Regions from separate parts of the Homo sapiens genome. Here all the other regions are linked to region 3. The links are contacts of gene promoters, found by promoter capture Hi-C in human tissues and cell types (Jung and others, 2019). All regions are on one chromosome and are shown on one strand. The core of a region is centred on a gene start or on the middle of the fragment in contact, and the rest is flanking DNA. Distances in the headings are between cores, read along the strand shown. Region 1 overlaps ZYG11B (zyg-11 family member B, cell cycle regulator). Region 2 holds the start of SCP2 (sterol carrier protein 2). Region 3 holds the start of MAGOH (mago homolog, exon junction complex subunit).

What was found. The method cuts DNA at HindIII sites, captures the fragments that hold promoters and counts their contacts. A contact is called where the count stands out against the background at its distance.
Region 1: a fragment that was not itself captured here is called in contact with the fragment with the promoter of MAGOH in region 3 in 1 of the 25 tissues and cell types used here (IMR-90 fibroblasts).
Region 2: the fragment with the promoter of SCP2 here is called in contact with the fragment with the promoter of MAGOH in region 3 in 1 of the 25 tissues and cell types used here (IMR-90 fibroblasts).

The regions. Positions count from the first base shown.
Region 1 is chr1:52,812,990-52,816,847 of GRCh38, forward strand. ZYG11B (zyg-11 family member B, cell cycle regulator) reads left to right here. Exons shown (of 14, transcript NM_024646.3): 11 at 547-744; 12 at 871-923; 13 at 3,543-3,640. Among named protein-coding and RNA genes, the nearest start is that of ZYG11A, 28 kb to the right of the region's middle. RefSeq lists an enhancer at 1,548-1,842. The HindIII fragment of the contact is 4,967 bases long and covers 39-3,858 here.
Region 2 is chr1:52,925,642-52,929,515 of GRCh38, forward strand. SCP2 (sterol carrier protein 2) reads left to right here and starts at 1,635. Exons shown (of 16, transcript NM_002979.5): 1 at 1,635-1,824. The coding sequence starts at 1,756. RefSeq lists a silencer at 1,398-1,677 and enhancers at 1,730-2,245, 1,898-1,957, 1,968-2,057. The HindIII fragment of the contact is 8,329 bases long and covers 1-3,874 here.
Region 3 is chr1:53,236,923-53,240,458 of GRCh38, forward strand. It overlaps MAGOH (mago homolog, exon junction complex subunit), which reads right to left and starts at 1,596. Exons shown (of 5, transcript NM_002370.4): 1 at 1,439-1,596. The coding sequence starts at 1,526. It overlaps MAGOH-DT (MAGOH divergent transcript), which reads left to right and starts at 1,688. Exons shown (of 3, transcript NR_038953.1): 1 at 1,688-2,423. RefSeq lists enhancers at 1,249-1,890, 1,378-1,437, 1,478-1,607. The HindIII fragment of the contact is 12,596 bases long and covers 1-3,536 here.

The DNA of each region.
Region 1 (3,858 bases), core at 1,272-3,771, 420 kb before region 3:
TTTATTTGTTTTGTTAGAGTGGCGTCTTATCAGACTTTACCCTACGGTTCATATATAATTTAGCCCTACTACTATCAAATACTTTGCTTATTATAAGGTCTCTTGAGTCTGGCTAGTGGAAATGTGAACTACTCCTATCCCTGTGTGACTTTAGGATTTATTCATATACTACTTTCTGGTAGTTCTTTCCCTAGCCTCCTGGAGTTTCACCCTTGTCATTACTGAGCCAGAGATTTGGGGTACAGGTCATGTGTGCTCTGTCTCTGAGTGTGGAGCTTTGTCCTTTCCAGCACTCTGTTCTACAGAGTTTTGCTGCTTGACCACCCTAAACTATGATCTCTGTTTCAACAAAACTGCTACTTTGTCTTTGGCTTACTCTTACCTTCATTGCAGTCTGTAAACTGCCCTCATTTGAATACTTTCTCTCAGGGAAATACTTTTCTTTCACCTTCCTGAATTGCCTGTTATCCAGGGCCTAAAAACAGTTATCTTAACCATTTACTATACATATTACATTAATTTTTATATTTTCTTTTTTTTTTCCAGAACAATATAGCTGAAGTACAAGAATTACATTCTGAATTAATGTGGAAAGATTTTATAGACCACATCAGTAGTCTCCTACACAGTGTGGAAGTGGAAGTCAGTTACTTTGCAGCTGGAATTATTGCCCATTTAATATCCAGAGGTGAACAAGCTTGGACATTGAGTCGTAGCCAGAGGAATTCTCTGCTGGATGATTTGGTAGGGTCATTCCATACCAACAAAAGACATTCATAGTGGTTAAACTATCAAAGCCTCATAATGTAGTAAATAATGCAGTGCTAAATAAATATTGTAATCCTTTCTTGTGTGTCTTTTGTCTTCCAGCATTCAGCTATTTTGAAATGGCCAACTCCAGAGTGTGAGATGGTAGCATACAGGTAATTAGTATCATAATTAACAGTAAACCAGCAACCTAGTCTAGAGATCATTCCTAAGAGTCATTCCTACTAGATGCATAATTTTTCCCTCAGGCACCTCAATATTGGTTATTTATTTATTTATTTTGAGACAGAGTTTCACTCCGTCGCCATGGCTGGAGTGCAGTGCATGATCTTGGCTCACTGCAACCTCCACCTCCCAGGTTGAAGCAATTCCCCTGCCTCAGCCTCCCGAGTAGCTGGGATTATAGGCGCCCACGACCACGCCCCGCTAATTTTTGTATTTTTAGTAGAGACGAGGTTTCACCATGTTGGCCAGGCTGGTCTTGAACTCCTGACCTCAGGTGATCTGCCTGCCTGGGCCCCCCTAAGTGCTGGGATTACAGGCGTGAGCCACCACACCCAGCCAAAAGTATTGGCTTTAAAAGAAGCAAAGTATTTTGACTTTTTTCTACCACCTATCACTCTTCATGTTTCCTTCATTTCACATTTGTTGAAGACAAGTGCTAGGAATTTGTTCTATGCTCTTGAAATACAAAAATGAACAAAGACATGGTGTCTGCACACAAGAATTTTATATCCTTGTGAGGGAGAGTGAATGTGGATCAGATAAAATACCGTTATGCCAAATGTCCATAGAATGTTATGAAATTAAAGGTGAAGCCCAGTGGGGTAGCACATACCTGTAGTCCTGGGAGGATCACTTGAGCCCAGGAGTTTGAGGCTGCAGTGAGTTATGATTGCATCACTGCATTCCAGCCTGAGTGACAGAGCAAGACTCCAAATGTAAATACACACACACACACACACACACACACACCTTTCAGAGGAAGTGAGTTGTGACCTGAGTGTTGAAAGATAAGGAGAGGCAGGAGATTTTTAGGAAGAAAAAGCATCGTATTAATGTAGGAAGGTCTAAAATAAAATGACACATTGAAGGAATTAGAAGTAGCACCAGATTTGGGCCAGGCATTGTGGCTCATGCCTATAATCCCAGCACTTTGGGAGGCTGAGGTGGGTGGATCACTTCAATCCAGGAGTTCGAGACCAGCTTGGCCAACATGTTGAAACCCCTGTCTCTACTGAAAGAACAAAGTTAGTGGGGCATGGTGGTGCACACCTGTAATTCCAGCTACTTGGGAGGCTGAGGCATGAGAATCGCTTGAACTTGGGAGGTGGAGGTTGCAGTGAGCTGAGATGGCGCCACTGCACTGCAGCCTGGGTGACAGAATGAGACTCTCAAAAAAGGAATAACACTAGATTTGGTTGGGGAAACAGTTTGTAATAATTTATTAAAGGGCATACTGGGCCTGGCATGGTGGCTCACACCTATAATCCCAACACTTTGAGAGACTGAGGTGGTAGTATCACTTGAGTTCAGGAGTTGCAGACTAGCCTAGGCATCATAGTGAGACCTCATCTCTACTAAAAAATAAAAAAACCTGGGCATGATGGCATACACCTGTAGTCCCACCACTTCGGAAGGCCAAGGCAGGTAGATCACTTGAGCTCAGCCTGAGCAACATAGTGAGACCCCGTCTCTACAAAAAATAAAAAATTAGCCAGTTGTGGTGGCACATCCCTGTAGTCCAAGCTGCTTGGGAGGCTAAGGTGGGAGAATCGCTTGAGCCTGGAAGGTTGAGGCTGCAATGAGTTGAGATCGCCTTACTGCACTCCAGCCTGAGCAACAGAGTGAGACCCTGTCTCAAATAAATAAATAAATGTAAAAATAAATAAATAGGCCGGGCATGGTGGCTCATGCCTGTAATCCCAGCACTTTGGGAGGCCGAGGCGGGCAGATCACGAGGTCAGGAGATCGAGACTATCCTGGCTAACGTGGTGAAACCCCGTCTCTACTAAAAATACAAAAAAATTAGCCGGGCGTGGTGGCAGGCGCCTGTAGTCCCAGCTACTTGGGAGGCTGAGGCAGGAGAATGCCGTGAACCCAGGAGGCGGAGGTTGCAGTGAGCTGAGATCGCGCCACTGCACTCCAGCCTGGGCGACAGAGCGAGACTCCGTATCAAAATAAATAAATAAATAAATAACAAAAATTAAGAAGTGCATACTGGATGCCTAACTCTGTTTGTAATTAGATAACTTGATAATTAAATTACTAATTACCTGAAGTATTTAATTTTTATTCAACTTATTTTTTTTGTTTGGTTCATAAATGCTGATGTTGCCAACATTTTTTTTATTTCTCCAACTTATGTTCCACCTATTTTTATTCAGACCAGTAGAAAATAGAAGGGATAATTATACATCTTTTTCATAGTGTTCTACTAGTTAGTTATCACCTAATTTCTCTATTTCTTAGTTTCCAAACCAAGATCTACTTATCTTCAAATGTGTATCTTTAAGACTAAAAAGTGCTTTTGGAAAAATTTTTTCTCTTTCACTACCATGTTCTAATCACCTTCCATCTTCTGTACTGAGTCATGTCTGAATGCAGTCTTCTCTGAAATGGTTAAGACAAAGAAATGATATTCTATAGCTCATTTATATTAGTCTAAATATAATAGGATAAAATTTTGAAAATGAAAAGTTTAGGAATCACTGCTTTAGGAAATTACGCTAAATATGGGATGTAACTTTGATTCTTTTCTTTTGAACCTTTAGGTCCTTTAATCCATTTTTCCCATTACTTGGCTGTTTCACAACACCAGGAGTTCAGCTATGGGCAGTTTGGGCCATGCAACATGTCTGCAGCAAGAATCGTATGTACCAAAAAAAAAGAACTGTGTTTTTTTTCTTTAAGTGAAATTCTCATTTCCCAGGAAAGATATTTCTAAATTGTGTATTAAAGTGATTTTTAAGAACACTGACTTAAAATGTAAGGCCATCTTAGGTTATAAACTTAAGGTATTCTTTTTTTTTTTTTTTTTTTTTTTTTGAGACGAAGTCTCGCTCTTGTTCCCCAGGCTGGAGTACAGTG
Region 2 (3,874 bases), core at 385-2,884, 310 kb before region 3:
TGGACAGCCAGGATTTGTTACATAACAATTAATCTTGACCTTAGGACTTGTTGTTCTATTAGGTTGGTAACTTTGTCTGATCCACCAATCATATTGCTGTCTTGTCAGTCCATCAGTTTCAAGAAACAACTGTACATGTCAGTGCCCTGATTTGTGTTTGTTTTTCTTTTTTTTTTTTTTTTGTTTCGTTTTGGTTTTTTAGAGACGTGGTCTTGGTATGTTGCCCAGGCTGGAGTGCAGTGGCTATTCAGAGGTGTAATCATAGCACATTTGTAGCCTTGAATTCCCAGGCTCAAGTGATCTTTCTGCCGAAGCCTCCTGAGCAGATGGGAGGCGTGCATCACTGAGCGCAGCAATTTTACTAAGTTGGTCTAGTCCTAGCTCAGTAGTTCTTTACTTAGCACAGAGGGGGCTTCTTAGAATCTCCTAAACTTGATCTTAGCCAAATGGCCAAGAAGCAATCCTTAGAATCTTCTAGGAGAGCCTTTCTAAATGCTGATACTGCAAACCGAAAAGTATATGAAACGGATCTCAATTAATTTAGAAGTTAATTTTGCCAAGTTTAAGGACGTGCATCATCTTTGGAGACAGGTCCGTGCCTTTCTCCAAAGATGATTTTGAGGGCTTCAGTTTTTATAGGGGAAGGGGCAGATATTGGGGAAAGATGAATAAATTTTAAAAAGATGTGGGTAGATAAGAGGCAAACGGTTGCATTCTTCTGAGTCTTTGATCAACCTTCACATGTGAGGGGGGTAGAGAAATAGTCACTTATGCATTCATCTAGCTCAATGAATCTGCATTTTTACATAAGATAAAATAAACCGGGGAGCCGGGCGCGGTGGCTCACGCCTGTAATCCCAGCACTTTGGGAGGCCAAGGTGGGTAGATCACCTAAGGTCAGGAGTTCCAGACCAGCCTGGCCAACATGGCGAAACCCCATCTCTACTAAAAATACAAAAATTAGCGGGGCGTGGTGGCGCGCGCCTGTAATCCCAGATACTCGGGAGGCTGAGGCAGGAGGATTGCTTGAACCTGGGAGGCGGAGGCTGCAGTGAGCCGAGTTCGCGGCATTGCACTCCAGCCTGGGCGACAGAGCGAGACTCCGGTCTCCAATAAACATGGAAGGCTGTTTCTCCCCGGTTTGCTGGAATAAAGTCTCTGTCTTCCAAATTCCTTTTCGGAGAACTTTTGTTCACAAGATTAAAAAGGTCACGCAGCTGGTGACGGAGCCTGGGTTTTTTGATTTAGACATTGTATCCATGTGTGAGATCCTGCCCATCCCCGCTTTCTTGGTGTCCTGTGAGTTTAAATTCATGAATTCACTCTCAACTGCCACCGCTAACAGGACACAGGCCAATTCCAACACGAACCCCAACGGCTCTCCTCAGGGTCACCTTTCATGAGTCCGCTTTCCGGCCAACCCCTCCTCTCAGTCTTAGGCCCCACTGCAAGCCTACTCCCGCTCACCGTACAGAACCTAAGCACAGGATCAGAGATGGGGACAGGTTGACTCAGTCCCATGCCCAAGTCCGCAAATTAGGGATTCGGCTGCCTAAGGGCTAGAGAACGCTCCCCGCCCCACAGGACGCGCCCCACCCCGCCCCCTCCTCCTGCCCCTACGCACGCGCACTCTCACGCGCCTGTGTTGCCGCCCGCGGCCCTGGCTTCGGGCTTCAGGGAGCTCTGGTGCAGTCTCCGCCTGTCAGTGCCGGCAGTCGTCCGCGGCGCCCGCCCCGGTCCCGCACTGGTGCAGCCATGTCCTCTTCCCCGTGGGAGCCTGCGACCCTGCGCCGGGTGTTCGTGGTGGGGGTTGGCATGACCAAGGTAAACCGAGCAGCGGCCCTGCTGGCCCTCTGAGGCTCGGGGGCGGTCGGTGCCTGGGTTTCTCTGTCCCTCCGGTCTCCTAGCTTCGACTGCTCCGCGCGTGGGTCATCGGCGTGGCGACTTGGTGGCTTGTACTCTGCGGAATCTCTGGGGTCATAGCGTCTCGGGCTGGTTCCTGCGGCCTTCTGCTTCCTCCTTCCCTTTTCTTCTGGTCAGAGTTCATGAAGCAGCCCCGAGATAATCCAAGGATCTCACCTCTTTAGATTCTGAGCGGAGTCCCGAGGTGTGTGGGCTGGCTTGCCCCGGAGGGAGGCAGGTCGCGAATGCCGCCTGCTCGGCCCTCCCAGGAACAGCCCCCACAGGAGCCCTCACAGAGACAGCTCCAGATGTGGATGGCGAGGAGAAACGCTCCTGATGCCCAGCGCCTCGGCCCGAGTGGCAGATTCCGGCCTCCCTCTGTCCCTCCAGTGACTGCTTGGGACCCGGACGCCGCAGGCTCCCACGGCCGTTTTCCCCTCATCGCCCGCATGCTCCTTAATGCCAAACTGCCTTTCGTTTCTCCCCGGACGCAGTTGTCTGATGCCTCTGTTGCTTTGCTTCTGTTCTGTTTGTACCGTGTATCTTCACCTGTTAACTTTTGTGCATCCTGAAAGGATCCGTTCAGATCGGATCTTCTCCAGGACGCCTCGGATCCTCCTGACTTTCCCCTAGAGCCTTGCACTGTGCTTACCTCTGTCCTGCACTTACTGTGCTCGGCAGTACCGGGCAGTACTAAAGCTCATAGGCGTCTGCGCGCCCTCTTAGCATGGCAGCTCCTCTAGACTGGGTACCTGGCTTATTCACTGCTGTGCCCCTCGCCCTGAACGTTCCTGATGCTTGAAGACCCTCAGTGAATGTTAGTTGAACAATACTAAATGGATATGCTTTGTGAAAGAGTTCCTAGGGAGAGTTCTATTTCTGAGAAAACAGCCCTAAAATGTTTATTATTTTACCAGTGGGCTGAGCGTACCTAATTCAGTCCAACATGTAAATAGGCCGGGGCCGGTGGCTCACGCCTGTAATCCCAGCACTTTGGGAGGCCAAGGCGGGTGGATCACCTGAGGTCAAGAGTTCGAGACCAGCCTGGCCAACATGGTGAAACCCCGTCTCTACTAAAAATACGAAAATTAGTCGGGCATGGTAGCACACGCCAGCTACTCGGGAGGCTGAGGTGGGAGGATTGCTTGAGCCTGGGAGATGGAGGTTGCAGTGAGCTGAGATCACGCAACTGCACCCCCAGCCTGGGCCATAGAGTCAGTCCTTGTCTCAACAAAAACAAAAAATATCCATGGAAATGGAAAAGTGGACCAATACCTTATGAAGCGGAAGGACATCATCCTAGTGTTTCACAGAAGGGGAGGCTTCTAACACAGGTGGACAGTAGGATCTTTCGAAGTAAGGTATTAATGCAGTCAAACCTTCCTCTGGCTGCTGAATGCCTGATTATATGTGCTGTATGGAAAAGCACAGTTGTCTAAACCTTTGGGAAATAGATGTATTCCTTTTTCCTCAAGTTGGGAGGTAGAGGTCGGGGAGGTGTTACAGTCCAGAGGAAAGTGGTGAGGAGTTTGGGTAGTGCCATTAATGATGTGCCTATCTGGCCAGTGTACTTTGCTATAGGTCTGGTCTTCTGCACCTTGGGACAGAGTTTGATGGAGGAGGGAGAAATATTGACTAGACAACACTGTAACACTTTTTTTTTTTTTTTTGGAAGACGGAGTTTTGCTCTGTCAACCAGATGGGAAGGCAGTGGTGCAATCATAGCTCACTGCAGCCTTGAACTCCTGGACTCTAGCGATCCTACCGAGTAGCTAGGACTACAGGCATTCTACCATACCTGGCTAATTAAAAAAAAATTTTTTTTGTAGAGACAGGGTCTCACTACTTACTACTAGATGGGTCTCATTTCTACCATATATTACTGTTATAATTTATCATAATACTTTATTTTTATTTTTTGAGACAGAGTCTCACTCTGTCCCCCAGTCTGGAGTGCAGTGGGGCGATCTCA
Region 3 (3,536 bases), core at 346-2,845:
ACTATCTCTGTAGTCCCAACCAGTATCTTTTTTTTTTTTTTTTTTTGAGACAGAGTCTTGCTCTGTCACCCAGGCTGGGGTACAGTGGCACTATCTCAGCTTGCTGCAACCTCCGCCCCAGGTTCAAGAGATTCTCCTGTCTCAGCCTCCCGAGCAGCTGGGATTACAGGCGTCTGCCACCACACCCGGCTAATTTTTGTATTTTTAGTAGAGGCGGGGTTTCACCATGTTGGCCAGGCTGGTCTTGAACTCCTGACCTCAAGTGATCCGCATACCTCGGCCTCCCAAAGGGCTGAGATTACAGGCTTGAGCCACCGCGCCCGGCCCCCAACATCTTTCGTGTCTTGACAACTGCAACAGTCTCCTAATCAATAGCCCTGTTTCCACTCTTGCCCATTCCGCACCCAATAACCAGAATGCTTTTTCAAGAAGAGATCACATTTCTTCTCTGCTTAAAACCTTCCAAGCCCGGCCGGGCGCGGTGGCTCACACCTGTAATCCCAGCACTTTGGGACGCCGAGGCGGGCGTATCACCTGAGGTCAGGAGTTCGAGACCAGCCTGGCCAACATGGTGAAACTCCGTCTCTACTAAAAATACAAAATTAGCCGGGCGTGGTGGTGGGCGCCTATAATTCCAGCTACTCGGGAGGCTGAGGCAGGAGAATCACTTGAACCCGGGAGGCGGAGGTTGCAATAAGCCGAGATCGCGCCATTGCACTCCAGCCTGGGCAAAAAGAGCGAAAGCCGTCTCAAAAAAAAAAAAAAAAAAAAGGCCTTCCAAGTCCAAACTTTTTACCGTGGTCTATAAAGACCTAAGAGGTGCCGCTCCTACCTACCTATCCGACATCATCTCCTGCTATCTCCCAGCTCACCACTCTTCAACCACACTGACCACCTGAGACACGCCTAGCTCATTCCCGCCCTGCAGCCTTGACATCTGGTATTCCCTTTGTGTAGAATGGTCTTCCTTATGAGCTTCACAAGGCTGAGCCCTTCTTGTTAATTAGGACTCGGCTGCAATATACCCTTTACAGAGAGCTCTCTAATGGCCAACCTATCTAAAAGCAGCCCATCCAGCAATTATTCTACCATGTTATTTTTTGACCACTCACTGCTATCTGGAATCATCTTTTTGTTTATGATCTCTCTCCCGGCAGTAAAACACAAGTTCCACGAGAGGGGAAGTTTGTCTACCTTCGCTGCCGTATTCCCAAAGAGTGGAACAGAGCCTGGCACACAGTGGGCGTTCAGTCAACGTTTGCTGAATGGATAGAAAGACCCCGTGGAGCAGACACAGTGGCGTTCCTTTAAGATCTGCACTGCACAGGTCTCAGTCCCTCCCTCCTCTAGTTCCCCACAGATTTCCGACCCTCGGCCTCCCCACTCGCCGGCCCCCAGGCCTGGTCCCCGCTCCCGGCGGGCGGCAGGCTGCTTTTACCGTCCGGTCGAAACTCAAACTCCAGGAACTCGTGGCCGAACTTGCCCTTGTGCCCCACGTAGTAACGCAGATAAAAGTCACTCTCCATGGCTCCCAAAAGACAACCGAGCCTGAACTTCCAAGAGCAAGCCGCACTGCCGCCGTCTGCGCCCGACACTGACGTTTGCGGCGGCGCGCGGAAGTGACGTCAGGTCCCGTCGTCGCTGCGTGGAGGGGTTCCTTCTCGCTAACCTCTTCGCCCGGAAGTGGCAACAAGACTGCAACATCCCCTCACGCCTAGTCTGTAAAGAACTTTGTTTAACCCGGAGGCGGGGCCAGCCAGCTCCGCCCCTCCAGCTGGACGCGGGAGCGAGGTTGAGGTTCATACCCCTGGGTTCTCTCCAGGCCTGAGGCGGAGAGCCAGCCGCCTGCCTACCTCTGGGCTTTGAACCCCGGGTCTGGTGACTTCGCTTAAAGACCTCGGGCCGAAGGCCCGCCAGGCTCAACCTCGGTTCACAGGACCCCCGACTTGTGTGAGTCGTACACCGCTCTTTACCGTCTCTGGACCTAGGTCATCTCGGCAGTAAAATGGGGTGAAATGACCCGACCTCCCCGGAGGATGCCGCGCACGATGTGTGCCTCAAGTTGGCTTCCACTGACCTGAACTGTTAAGAAAGCCCTCCTCAGTGACGCCTTCCCTGAATCCACAGTGGAGATTGCCGTTTTCCTGGAACTAATTCACCCACACTTACCCATTTCATCCCTTTCCACCTTTTATTTCTACCTTTCTGCCCCACTGATCTCTAGAATAGGTGCTGGGAGACGTTAGAGTATTTGATCTCCCACTCCCCAGTCATCCCACTTACCGAGCAGTAATTCTCTGCCTGGCTGCACATTGCAATCACTTGGGAAGCCTCTAAAAATACTGATGCCAGGGCTCTACCCCAAGCCAGTTAAAATCTCCAGCGCTGGACCTGGGCATTGGTACTTTTTGTAAAGCTTTCAGGTGAGTCAGAGTTGAGGACCACTGACCAAAGAGGTCCTTTCTTTTCAGGGTAAAGTTGTCCTCTGTGAAGCCTTTCTGGCTCTGGAAAAAATTTACAGTTGAGTAGGCCCAGGGCAATCAAGATCATAATTATGTAATAGGAACCTGCTTTCACTCATCTAAGTTCCAGGCTTAGAAAGAATGAATGGTTCTAGAGACAGTGCCGAGATGACATCATTCTTGGGTCCTGGCGGCTAGAACTGTATACGATTCTGTAAGTTGGGACAGCAGTCTCTGATTCCTATTCCCAGTCTTTTCTTTTTGAGACGGAGTTTCGCTCTTGTTGCCCAGGCTGGAGTGCAATGGAGTGATCTCAGTTCACCGCAACCTCGCCTACCTAATTTTTAAACTTTTTGTAGAGGCAAAGTCTCCCTATGTTGCCCACGCTGGTCTCAAACTCCTGGGTTCAAGTGATTCTCCTGCCTTAGCCTCCCAAGTAGCTGGGATTACAGGCATGCGCCACCATGTCCAGCTAATTTTTGTAATTTTCTGTTTTTAGTAGAGACGGGGTTTCACCATGTTGGCCAGGCTGGTCTCGAACTCCCGACCTCAGGCGATCCGTCTGCCTCGGCCTCCCAAAGTGCTGGGATTACAGGCATGAGCCACCGCGCCCGGCCCTCAGTCTTAACACGGAGTCCTTTTCTCCCTGCAAAAGCATTAGCAGCAGAGTGTAGAGTAGGTGTGGTGGGGGAAAAATCACTGGACACAGGTTAAAATAATCCCTGTGTAACAATGACTCATTGTAACCAAAGGTGAACCGACTCAACTTTTTAGACTTCAGTTTCCTTCTCTTTAAAATGAGCATAATAATGTACACCTAGCAGAACTGTTGTAAGAAACAATGTCTCGGAAACTAAATTGCTGTAAAACCATAAGACATTTTTATTACAAAACACTGGATATGGGTGGTAACAAGGGAATTGTATAAACGAGAAGGGGGCTAGACACAGTGGCTCATACCTGTAGTCCCAGCACTTTGGGAGGCTGAGGCAGGAGGATCACTTGAGCCCAGGAGTTTGAGACCAGCCTGGGCAACATAGGAGACTGTCTCTACAAAAAATTTAAAAAATAGGT